Regions from separate parts of the Homo sapiens genome. Here region 2 is linked to region 1. Evidence: promoter capture Hi-C in 16 types of primary human blood cells and fetal thymus (Javierre and others, 2016). All regions are on one chromosome and are shown on one strand. The core of a region is centred on a gene start or on the middle of the fragment in contact, and the rest is flanking DNA. Distances in the headings are between cores, read along the strand shown. Region 1 holds the start of VAMP2 (vesicle associated membrane protein 2). Region 2 holds the start of ZBTB4 (zinc finger and BTB domain containing 4).

What was found. The method cuts DNA at HindIII sites, captures the fragments that hold promoters and counts their contacts. A CHiCAGO score of 5 or more calls a contact.
Region 2: a contact is called between a fragment that was not itself captured here and the fragment with the promoter of VAMP2 in region 1, in 1 of 17 cell types (total CD8 T cells). The highest score is 5.2, in total CD8 T cells.

The regions. Positions count from the first base shown.
Region 1 is chr17:8,160,275-8,165,650 of GRCh38, reverse strand. It overlaps VAMP2 (vesicle associated membrane protein 2), which reads left to right and starts at 2,703. Exons shown (of 5, transcript NM_014232.3): 1 at 2,703-2,773; 2 at 3,282-3,402; 3 at 3,885-4,043; 4 at 4,127-4,178; 5 at 4,780-5,376. The coding sequence starts at 2,772. The coding sequence ends at 4,796. RefSeq lists silencers at 2,336-2,395, 2,526-2,625, 2,786-2,975, 3,266-3,375 and an enhancer at 3,486-3,535. The HindIII fragment of the contact is 9,788 bases long and covers 1-5,376 here.
Region 2 is chr17:7,475,595-7,481,114 of GRCh38, reverse strand. It overlaps ZBTB4 (zinc finger and BTB domain containing 4), which reads left to right and starts at 1,484. Exons shown (of 4, transcript NM_001128833.2): 1 at 1,484-1,659. RefSeq lists silencers at 1,128-1,387, 1,408-1,867, 2,128-2,177. The HindIII fragment of the contact is 1,246 bases long and covers 3,275-4,520 here.

The sequences.
Region 1 (5,376 bases), core at 1,454-3,953:
CACGGTGAAACCCTGTCTCTACTAAAAATACAAAAAATTAGCCGGGCCGGGTGGTGGGCGCCTGTAGTCCCAGCTACTCGGGAGGCTGAGGGAGGAGAATGGCGTGAACCTGGGAGGCGGAGTTTGCAGTGAGCAGAGATCGCGCCATTGCACTCCAGCCTGGGTGACAGACAGAGACTCTGTCTCAAAAAAGAAAAAAAAAGAAAAAAAAAAGAAAAAGAAAGTGTGGTCTCTGTTGCCTACATCACCATCACCTTGAGTCCTACATCCTTTGAATGAGTCTTGGGGGTGTGCCCTAGAAAATCATTGGCCAATTCCCGAAGCCAGTACATGTAGAAGCCAAATCTGAGTTATGCAAATACATTATTTTTCTATTGTTCAACTTACCTCTATTTGGGTCTCCATTCTACCTGCCTGCAGAAAACATTCTCTCAGTCACTTCCAGGTGAACTCCGTCATCCCACTCCTTCTCCCACCTCCACCATTGATCTAAATTTGGGGAGTTCCTCTGAGCCACAGCCTAGGTGGGGTGGGGTGGGAAGGGGCTGCTGGATGAGAGTCCTCTTTCTGAGATGAATCCTCCTGGGCCCTTCATCTCCGTGGGTCACACATGCCCTCATTTCTACTCTGCTGCTGCCGTCCCCACGATCCAATAGCAATAGCACGACCCCTGGCCTTGACCGTGTATCTGGGGCTCTGTCCCTTCCACATCACCCCCAAACCAGCATCAAATGTCTTGTCTGGCTCTGCACTAGGCTCCCCTCAGTTAGTGCAGGGTGTCCAACTGGGGGCGGAAGGGCTTCCTGTGCCTGCCTCTTCCAATCCTCCATGTCTTATTTATACCCTGACAGACACTGAGGGTTTTGAACTTAAAAGGCTGGAATTTGGCATCTTTGTTCTCTGACTAGAAAGAGGAATCATTTGAAGACCAAAAAGCAGGAGCCAGCATCTCACAGCATGATCTGAGACCCCCGTGGAAGCTGCTCTTTTCTTTCTCATCACATAGGCTGAGCCACCCGGGACTGTCAGTGCACAAGGACCAGGGACGCGGCTGCTCCTCTGAGGGGGAGGAAGCCAAGAGTATCTTCTCTTAGATTGGGCTGAGTTCCCACACCCAGCACACACATTCCCTGCTCACTCACCTCCCACAGACAGCTGGGAAATGACACCTCTGGTGACAGAGCCACTCTCCGGGCTTCTGTGGGGAGCGGGTGGGGCACTGCAGTGGGGGAGGATCTCACACCCGGAGGCCCTGGGAAGCCAGGGTGGGGGAGGGAGGAAGCTGGTTCCTGTTTGTCTTAGAGATCAAGGCCATCAGCCTCCCTGCACCTTCCAGGGATGTAGTAAGCACCCCCACCCCAGGGCCAAAGGGCCTCGCCTAAAATGCCTCCTGCACCCTTGAGGCTTGCTTTGACCCCCTGCACTCCACCAGAGCGACAGCTCCCCTGGTCCCATCTTCTCTGACAAGCTGGGTGGGAGTGTATACAGCTGCTGGGTGTGCTTAGAGGGCCTAATGGAGACCAGCCAGGGATAATCTCCTATGTTATCCACATCAAGCCATTTAACAAATATGGATTTAGTACCTACATATGCAATGTATTTGGGGTCCAGAGAGAGGAGGGCAACGGTCCAAGGTCACACCTGCGAGGCGAATACGCATGTAAAGCAGCACCTTGTAACCTGTGCCCACTGTGCCTACTACTAAAGAAAAAAAAATGAGAGAAAAAGAAAAAAGGCTTTTTTTTTTTTTTTGGCCCAGGCCCTGTGCCTGGGACCAAAGCCTGAGCCCTTTCCTGCAGTCGGGTCGCTGACCTAAGCCTGGGGCAAAGCTAGGTCTTGGCCAGTCAGCAGCCACCACGTGAAGCAGCCCCTGCCCCCATCACCCCCGGCAGCCTTGTGCCCTCCTCCTCGGGGTCCTCAGCTCACCCCACCTCAGTCGGGCCTGCTCCAGCGGTTAAGTACCCCTAGTCTGAACCTTAATCGTGAGGCGGGGCAGCCCCCTCCCCACACCCTGTAGACACTCCCCCGTCCTCCGCCCCCTGGACTTGTTTGGGCGGGAAGAGCCTGCCTCATCTTTTCTTCCTACCCTCCTACCCAGTGGCCAGGGACCCCAGGCTTCCTCTGAGACATCCACCAGCGGTGATGGGTTGGGACCAATCTCCCCCACTCCTCTCCACCCTAGCAGTAAGGTCCCCGCTCTCGATACTGCCCCAGCACCTGCACTGGCCCTCTCTGATTTCCCAACTCCAGCCCATTCCAAGTGCTGAAGGCGGGTCGCTAGGTGCTGGGACCTGGGCGCGGGGCAAGACCTTGGGCTGTGTGGGGTGCAGGCTGGTTTACTGGGTTCACGATTGAGGGAGTGGTCTGGGGGTTAGGTGTAGGGCCAGGCTGCGTTGTGCTCTAAGGGGCAGGCGGCAGGCGGTTTGGGGGGGCTGTGGTCAGACAGGGTGGGGTGGCGGTGGGTTTGGGGAAGCCGCAGCAGCCCGCCTTGGGGTCCCGCGAGTGCCGAGGGAGCTGCCGGGGCATGGTGGCGCGGGGCCCGTGGTCCTGCCCGGCACGACCCCCGCCCCGCAGCGCCCCGCAGCGCCCCGCCCCCGCGGCCCCGCTCGCGACGCGTCTCCCGCGGCGCCCCGCCCCCGCCCGCAGTGCCCGGATGCGGGTGACGCGCGGCCGCCATCTTTCCGTCCCGGGCAGCCAGCGCCAGTCGGAGCCAGCGCGAGCCGCCGCCGCCATCACTGCCGCTGCCAAGTCCTCCACCCGCTGCCCCCGCCATGTGAGTCGGCCGCCCGCCACCCTCACCGCGCTTCCCTGCGCCGGCCGCCGCCCTTGGCAACCGGCCGTCGGGAGTGCCCGGGGTCTCTCCTGCGTTCCCCGCGCCCCGGGGCCAGGCCCAAGCCGGTGACTGCGCGCGGGCGGCCGAGGAGCCCCGCGTCCCGGGCTGGCCGGCTCGGGCGATGGCCGCGGGAAGGAGCGGACCCAGTGTCCTCCTGCCCCTCCCCGCCCCTGTCACCGCGGCCGCCTGTCTTTTCGGGTCGACCCGGATCGCATCTGTGAGGTCGCCCTCAGTTGACAGGCGGGGAAACTGAGGCCGGGGGGGCCTCGCTCAAGGTCACGCAGCTCATCGGCGGCAGGGCTGGACCGAGACCAGGGCTTACATCGGGTGGCCTTCCTCCCGAAAAGGAGGACTGGAGGGACGAGGATGGACAGGTGGATGGGCGGAGCCCTGGCTGCGGGGCCGGGAGGCTGCAGGCCCTGGGTCTTAATCCGTCCCTGCTCCTCAGGTCTGCTACCGCTGCCACGGCCCCCCCTGCTGCCCCGGCTGGGGAGGGTGGTCCCCCTGCACCCCCTCCAAACCTCACCAGTAACAGGAGACTGCAGCAGACCCAGGCCCAGGTGGATGAGGTGAGTGTGGGGGGAGTCAAAAGCAGTAGGAGGGACCCTGGGGGTTGGCGTATAGGTGTAGGGGCCCATGTTGGTTTGGGAGTGATGACAGTTCACGCCTGTGGGTTTGCGGACAAAGATACCATGCCCCATCCCTGTCTCCCTGTCAGCACGCACTTGGAAGGGCGCTGGGGGTGTTAATCAGCTTTGCTAGCCTGGGGTGTGCCAGCCTGGGCAGGTGTGCTCTGGTGATGGACAGAGCGCCTGAGGTTCCATAGAGGGAGGGTGTTGCTATGACATCTGAGATGTCACCAGCATGCCCCTGATGTGTGCTCCTTGCATGTCCCCAGGTGTGCTAGGCATGTTCTGTGTGTCCTTGGCATGTTAACCTGGCAGTATCAGGGTGCATGTTCCATGTGTGGCACGGTGGGCACATGTTTGAGGATTGCCCTCACTGAGGTGGGCCTTGGCACACCCCCCTGCCTCGTGGGCCCTTCTCCCAGGTGGTGGACATCATGAGGGTGAACGTGGACAAGGTCCTGGAGCGAGACCAGAAGCTGTCGGAGCTGGACGACCGTGCAGATGCACTCCAGGCGGGGGCCTCCCAGTTTGAAACAAGCGCAGCCAAGCTCAAGCGCAAATACTGGTGGAAAAACCTCAAGGTAAGGGTGGGGACAGGAAGGAGGACAGGTGGGTGAATGGGGTATCATAGTTTGTCTTACTGATCCTCGCCTCTCACCCCCAGATGATGATCATCTTGGGAGTGATTTGCGCCATCATCCTCATCATCATCATAGGTGAGTAGGGTGAGAATGGCCGGGGCCCTTTCCCTGGAGAGGTTTCCCCAGTGGATTCTAGGTTTTGAAGGTCATTAATCTAGTTTTTACTCTTCAGCCAAAAACACATATAGCTGCTAATGGCAATTCTGATTCATCTAGAGCCAAAAACTTTGATGTTATTTAGCCTGCATTTTGCCTAGTTCTTGGCAGTCTTGTTAACATTTGGAAATAGGAAAGCTGGTGTATCCATTGAGGACCCTTTAGGCCTAAGAGCCCAGTCTGAGAACCCTGGAATTGAGGAGTGGGAGAAAGGAAAGGACCAGGGGCTTGAGACATGACCAGGAAGCCAACCACCCCATTATTTGAGAGCTTGCGGTCTCAGAGGCTCAGAGGATTAGGGTCTGTGGCTTCAAGGCCATACCATGGAGCGGAAGGGACCTCAGAACCTACCTGTCTAGCCCCTTGCTTTGTAGATGGAAAAACTGAGTCCAAGAGAGGGTGTCAGCCAGCTGGGGAGTGGGGAGGATTGGAGCAGGGCCAGGCCTGACACACTGCTTTCTTGTTCTCTCTCTTTCTCTCCCCTCTCCCTCTTCCTCATCTTCTTCCCCTCTCTCCACAGTTTACTTCAGCACTTAAATCCCCGAGGAGTCTGCCCTGCCTAGAGAAGGGCCTCTCCCCCAACCCTCAGCCGTTCCTCCACCTCTCAGCCATATCTTTCAGCCCCCACTCCCCTGGATCCGTGTGTGTGTGTGTCCGTGTGTGTGTCCCCCTGTAAATAGCCAGCTGTTATTTATACATATATAATATTATATATATTTGGTCTGTTTGTAGTTTTATTACTAGATGATTTTTCCGGTTGTCCTTAACACCCCTTCCTGAGGTTCCCTTCACCCCTCTCTCTTGCCTTCCTTCCCTTTCCCTTTCTTCCTGACTAGCCCCAAGTCCCTTCATTTGCATCTGCTATGCAATAGTCCCTCTCCTTTCCTTCTTCTTCCCTCAGATTTAGCTGATCCTTCCTCCCACCCTGGCCTTCCTTTCCTCTTTCCTCCTCACTCTCCCCGTCATGCTCCCTCTGCCCCGCCCTCAAAAAAAAAAAAAAAAAAAAAAAAACAACAGCACCTGTCCAGGCTTCCTTAGGTACATCTTCTTTGTATCCATTGGGAGGCTCTGAGACTGGCCCCACTTGGTCCTAAGAATCCCAAGGTCTTTGGGAGCG
Region 2 (5,520 bases), core at 2,648-5,147, 690 kb after region 1:
CAATCTCGGCTCACCGCAACCTCCACCTCCTGGGTTCAAGCAATTCTCCTACCTCATCCTCCCAAGTACCTGGGATTACAGGCATGTGCCACCACACCCCGCTAATTTTTTATTTTTCGTAGAGATGGGGTTTCTCCATGTTGGCCATGCTGGTCTTGAACTCCTTACCTCAAGTGATCCACCCCACCACCCCCCGCCTCCCAAAGTGGTGGAATTACAGGCATGAGCCACCGTGCCCAGCCCAACTCTGCTTCTTTTCTATTTATGTCTCCATGACTCCAAAGTTTGTCTGATTCTTTTATTCTTTTTATGGCTAGCTCTGTGGCTTTACATTAATTTGTTTATTTATATCTTGCATGGTTTCAGAGAGGTTTTTTTGTTGTTGTTTTTTTTTTGAGACGGAGTCTGTCTCTGTCGCCCAGGCTGGAGTGCAGTGGCGAGATCTCGGCTCACTGCAAGCTCCGCCTCCCAGGTTCACGCCATTCTCCTGCCTCAGCCTCCCGAGTAGCTGGGACCACAGGCGCCCGCCACCACGCCCGGCTAATTTTTTTGTATTTTTAGTAGAGACAGGGTTTCACCGTGTTAGCCAGGATGGTCTCGATCTCCTGACCTCGTGATCCGCCCACCTCGGCCTCCCAAAGTGCTGGGATTACAGGCGTGAGCCACCGCGCCCAGCCTCAGAGAGGTTTTAAGGCAAGGAGCTGTGAACCCTGGCTCCTCCATCTCCTTAGTTTTTAATTTTCCAGCACCAGGGAGGAGTTCTTGGGATTGTCCCTGTGGAGTTTCAGGAATGTGTTTTTTCTGTGTGTGCTTCCACCTGGTGTTTTGTTGATGCTGTCCCCAGAGGCCGACACCAAGGCCTCTGCATTTATGTTCAAGTATACAGATGTGGATCTATCTGCTGGTGGGGACAAAGTACCCAGCCAGCTTCATGTGTTCATTTGCGCTGGTGGTCGTTCGTGTGTGCCCCGTATGCAGGGCCAGGGCCTTCTTTTTCCGCGGCCTGCTGAGCTTTCCTGCGCATTCCTGGAGAGGGTGTGTGTGTGTGTCCAGGGCTGGCCCTCTTTGAGTGTGCCGACCCTGGGTCTGTGAGTCCCACCGGGCCTGATTATGAGTCTGCCATGTCATGTCTGCACCCTGAGAGCCTGTGTGTTATGCTTTCAGGCAGTGTGCACCGCTGAGTGAAGGGCGTGCAGGAGGAAGGGCGGAGGGAGCCCTTTCCCTGGGGGTCGGTGGTCTTGCGCCCCTGCCGGGATGCTGCAGCCCGGCCCGCGCCCCGCTCGGTGTCCACCCGCCCGGTGGCCCAGCGCGGCGCAGTGTCATGCCGCGGGGGTCAGTCCTGGGGAAGGCCGTCGGGCGCTCGGAGCTTTGTGTCGGTGTCGGCTGCGCTGCGCCGGCCTCCTCTCGGCGGCGGCGGCGGCGGCGCTGGGGGGGGACTGTTTCCGGGGGTGGGGGTGGGGGTAGGACCGGGGCGGGGGGAGCCGATGATGTCAGCGGCGGCGGCGGCGGCGGCAGCGGGGCCGGGCCGGGGCCAGGCGCTGGGGGGGCCAGGGCCGGAGCTGGAGCCGGAGCCGGAGCTGGAGGCGGGCAAAACCGGAGCGGCCGGGGGCGGCCACGGTGATGAGCCGGGCCTGGCGGACGCGGCGCCATCGCAGTCAGGTGGGCCCTGGGGCGAACTGGGCAGGGCCAGGGCGGACCGGAGCCAACTGCCAGGCCCCCTCTCCGCTGCCCGGCGCTGCGGGAGCCCCGACCGCGCCCCGCGCCCAGACCGCTCTCCTTTGGGGTTGACCTGGGGGCGCAGGGGTCGGGGGCTGAGCCTGGCCCCGCCCCCGGGCGCGCACGACGCTGGGGGGCGACTAAGGGGGCCCTGGTATGGCGTCCGAGCGAGGGGCGGCCGTGGGACGCGATCGCCTGGGGCCGTGGAAGGGGAGGTGCTCACTCCCTCTTTGAAGGGTTAATTCTGCAGCCTAATGGCCCCCTCCCCCCGTGGGGCAGATTGGGGGTGGGGTGGGGCGGGTGTGAGCCCGGGCAAGCGCTGCAAGCTGCTGGGAGGGTGATGGCGTAGGAGCCAGGCAGAGAGGGGGAGGGGTGGGCCGCCGAGCGCCCCAGAGTTGGGGTGTGCGGGGTGCGCAGGGCGAGCTGGGGCCCCGGAACCGCCGCGCCGTCGGGGCAGGGTTGTGGCTGTGAGTCTTGGAGATCGTGTGTCTTGTGCTGTGTGGTGGGGCAAGGTAAACCTCTCCTGGGCACCACCGTTTGCTGGCAGCCAGGGGTCTGGGTAGGGCCCTCCCTGGGCCATGGAGATAGAAAGCCAGGAAGGGTGTCCAGTGTTGTGGGGCAGAGTTACAAGACGAGCCCTGTGGCTTTGGGTGACAGATGGGTATTCTGAGCAGGGCACAGCATGCTGGGTGCAGAGTTTGTTCGATGTGGGGCTGTATGTTTTCTACAGCATGTGTTTTCTCGCATGTGTGTCTTGTGCTGCACCTATGACCTGTTTATGAACTGTTTTCTGCAGAGCTGGCATGCTGTATGTGTTGCGGAGGGTGCCAGGATGCAGTGTATGTGCCCTTTTGGAGGGGGCGGTTGTGGGCCTTTGAGTCAGAAGGCGTCACGTCTGGGTCCCATTTCTGTGGCCCTGCTGAGGTGTGGTCCAGTGGTGAAGAGGGCGATGGATGGGTTTGCGTGTCTGTGATGAGCGCGTTGCATGGGGGCTGCGCGTCTAGAACTCAGATCCCAAAGATCATGAGAGGAGCGAGGAACCCCGGGGTATGTCTCAGGGGCCTGTGGGTCAGTTGGCACTGGTGTGAGGGGCTCGAGGTGGAATGCGCCAGTTGTGTTTATGGGATCATGGGCAGCCAAGCGAGGGGAAGGTTGTGTGTTTGCAACATTCTCCACAGGATTCTTTTGTGACGTTGTTTGTAGGAGCCTGTCTGGGCTGCTGAGCTGGGAGGCAAACTGGTCAGAAAACACATGTGGGGAGGGAGGTGGCGTGACAAGGGCAGTGTGGGCCTCAGACCCAAGAGGCCAGCCGCAAGCAGGCTGTGTGTGCGTGCCTGCCGTCTGTGTGCTTAAGTGGCGGTGGGGCTGCGGAGGGGATTTGGTATGAGGAAGGCGGGAGATAAATGCAGGGTAGCGCATGGAGGCCGGCGGGAGGCATGGGTGTTGTCAGATGGCCCAGCTAATCTTTGCAGGGTCTGTATGTTTGCCCCTCATGAGCCTGCCCAGCGTGTCAGGGTCACCCGGAGGAGAGGCTGGGCGGCCACAAGGGAAGTAAGCTTAGACAGAGAGGCTCCTTGGCCATGTTTATGTAAAGGCTGGGTGTGACTCTTGTCACTAAAATGGAAAAAAGAAACGTGAAGTTTTCAGCCTCCTCCTGCTTCACCCTCTCCCTCTCTCTGCCCCCCTTGTGGGTATCTCTGACGCACACTGGGCCCCACTCCTGCGACGGTGGAAGGGCCTCAGAACAGAATTCGCTCACTAGGCAGATTCCTCAGAACAGGTTTTCCTCACCTTTGGGGACTGGGCCCTTCTAGGGGTGTGTGTGCAAGTGCATTCCAAGCCTGCACACCACTGTCTACTGTGCCCGGCCCCACTGGAAGGATGTGTGTACGTGGGGGAAGGGAGGGTGCTGCGGACAGGCCCTCCGGCATGGGGGGCTGGGAAGGGGTGGCTGCCGTGGGAGCCTGCTCAACAGGTGCACAGTGACGGTCTGGTGAAGAGAAAGGAGCCATGGTCCAGGGCTGAGGAGCTCTGGCGTCTTTACCATTCCCTCACTGGCACTTGATCTGAAGGAAGCTCAGTTCCTCATCTGCAGAATGGGGCTGATTGTCTGCCCTGCGTATCTTCCAAAAGCACATGGGAAACGGACCCGGAAAGTGGCTATAGTCTGGGGGCTGTGCCTATGCCAGCCCCTGTCAGCCCTCCCCCAGGACTGGGAATTCCCTTCTTGGGGCTTCGCTGATAATAATGGCAGCACACACTTGCTTAGCACTGACCGTGCACCAGCCTGTCCTCAGGGCACTTATATGTGGCCACTCTGTCCTCAGAACAACACCCTGAAGTAGGCACTCTACCTCCCTTTTTCAAGTGAGGCAGCTGAGGTCCAGAGAAGTTAAGTAATCTGCCCCAAGTCACTTAGCTAGTAAGAGGTGAAGCTGTATTTGAACCCGGGCAATCAGGTTGAAGATCTTGTGCTCTTAACTACTGTACTCTGCTGCCTTCTGGAACATTCAGTGGATGGTCCTTTCTGTGCAACTCCCTCCAACACTCTTCTCCCCAGTTGCTGCAGAACTTAGCATTTGCAGCAGTCCATTTCAGAAGACCCGGATGCTCAGGGATCCCCAGCTGAGGGCATGAGAACCTGAGTCTCTGCTGCTGTGTAAGGTGGATGCTGGCCATAGGAGCACAAAAGGTTGATGAGTCAGAGGAAGGAATGATCGTTCTCATCCTGTGGATCAGGGAGGGCCAAGAAGGAGGTGGCCTTGGAGTCAGATCTTAACGTTTTGGAGGGATTTTGACAAGCTTGGGGAAAGAGCATTTCTGGCAGAACAAGCCAGCACAGGCAAAGGCATGAAGGTGTGGGTCATGTAGAAGCTGGAGAGCACACTGGGTGTCTGGGGTTTTGTTCATTTGTTTAGAAACTGGGTCTCAATATATTGCCCAGGCTGGACTCAAACTCCTGGGCTCAAGCAATCCTCTAGCTGCAGCCTCCTGAGTAGCTGGGACTATGGGTATCTGCCATCACGCCTGGCTCACGCTGAGTACTGTGTGTTTGAAGAGGATAACACAAGGCAAGATTAAAAAGGAAGATTGGAGCTAGACCAGAGCCCTTGACTGCCTGGTAGAAGAATTTGAACTTTCTTCTAGAGTCAGTGGGGACCAGTGGAGGTTTTGAGCCCAGGAGTGATAGTCCTGAACTGTGGTTAGGGACGTTGACCCTCAGGGGGAGGAGGGCTGGATGGAGGAAGGTAAGCCTGGAGGCCAGGGGATAGCTGGGAGGCCATAACCTTGGACCACGTGAGTGTTAACAAGGACCTGAGCTATCGAAGGGAAGATTTCCAGAGCCATTCCCAAGCTCGGCGGCGATTTCAGCCACACTTGATGACTGCTGGATGTGGAAGTGAGGGAAAGGGTGGAGTCAGACATGACACATTTAGCACTTAGCACGTGAGACCTTGTGCGGTGGTTTATGTAACCAGCTGGCGGGCCATAGGCCTCTTCAGGGCCAGGTCTAGCAGTATGGCAGAGGGAAAGATTGAGCATCTGGGGTCAGCTGGGCCTGGATTCGAATCTTGACTGCTGCTTACAAGCTGTGCGACCTCGAGTAAGGTATATCCCTCTCTGAGCCTCGGTTTCCTCTTCTGTAAAATTAGAATAATATGGCCGGGCGCAGTGGCCCATGCCTGTAATCCCAGAACTTTGGGAAGCCAAGGCAGGTGGATCACCTGAGGTCAGGAGTTCAAGACCAGCCTGGCCAACATGGAGAAACCCTGTCTCTACTAAAAATAAAAAAACTAGCTGGGC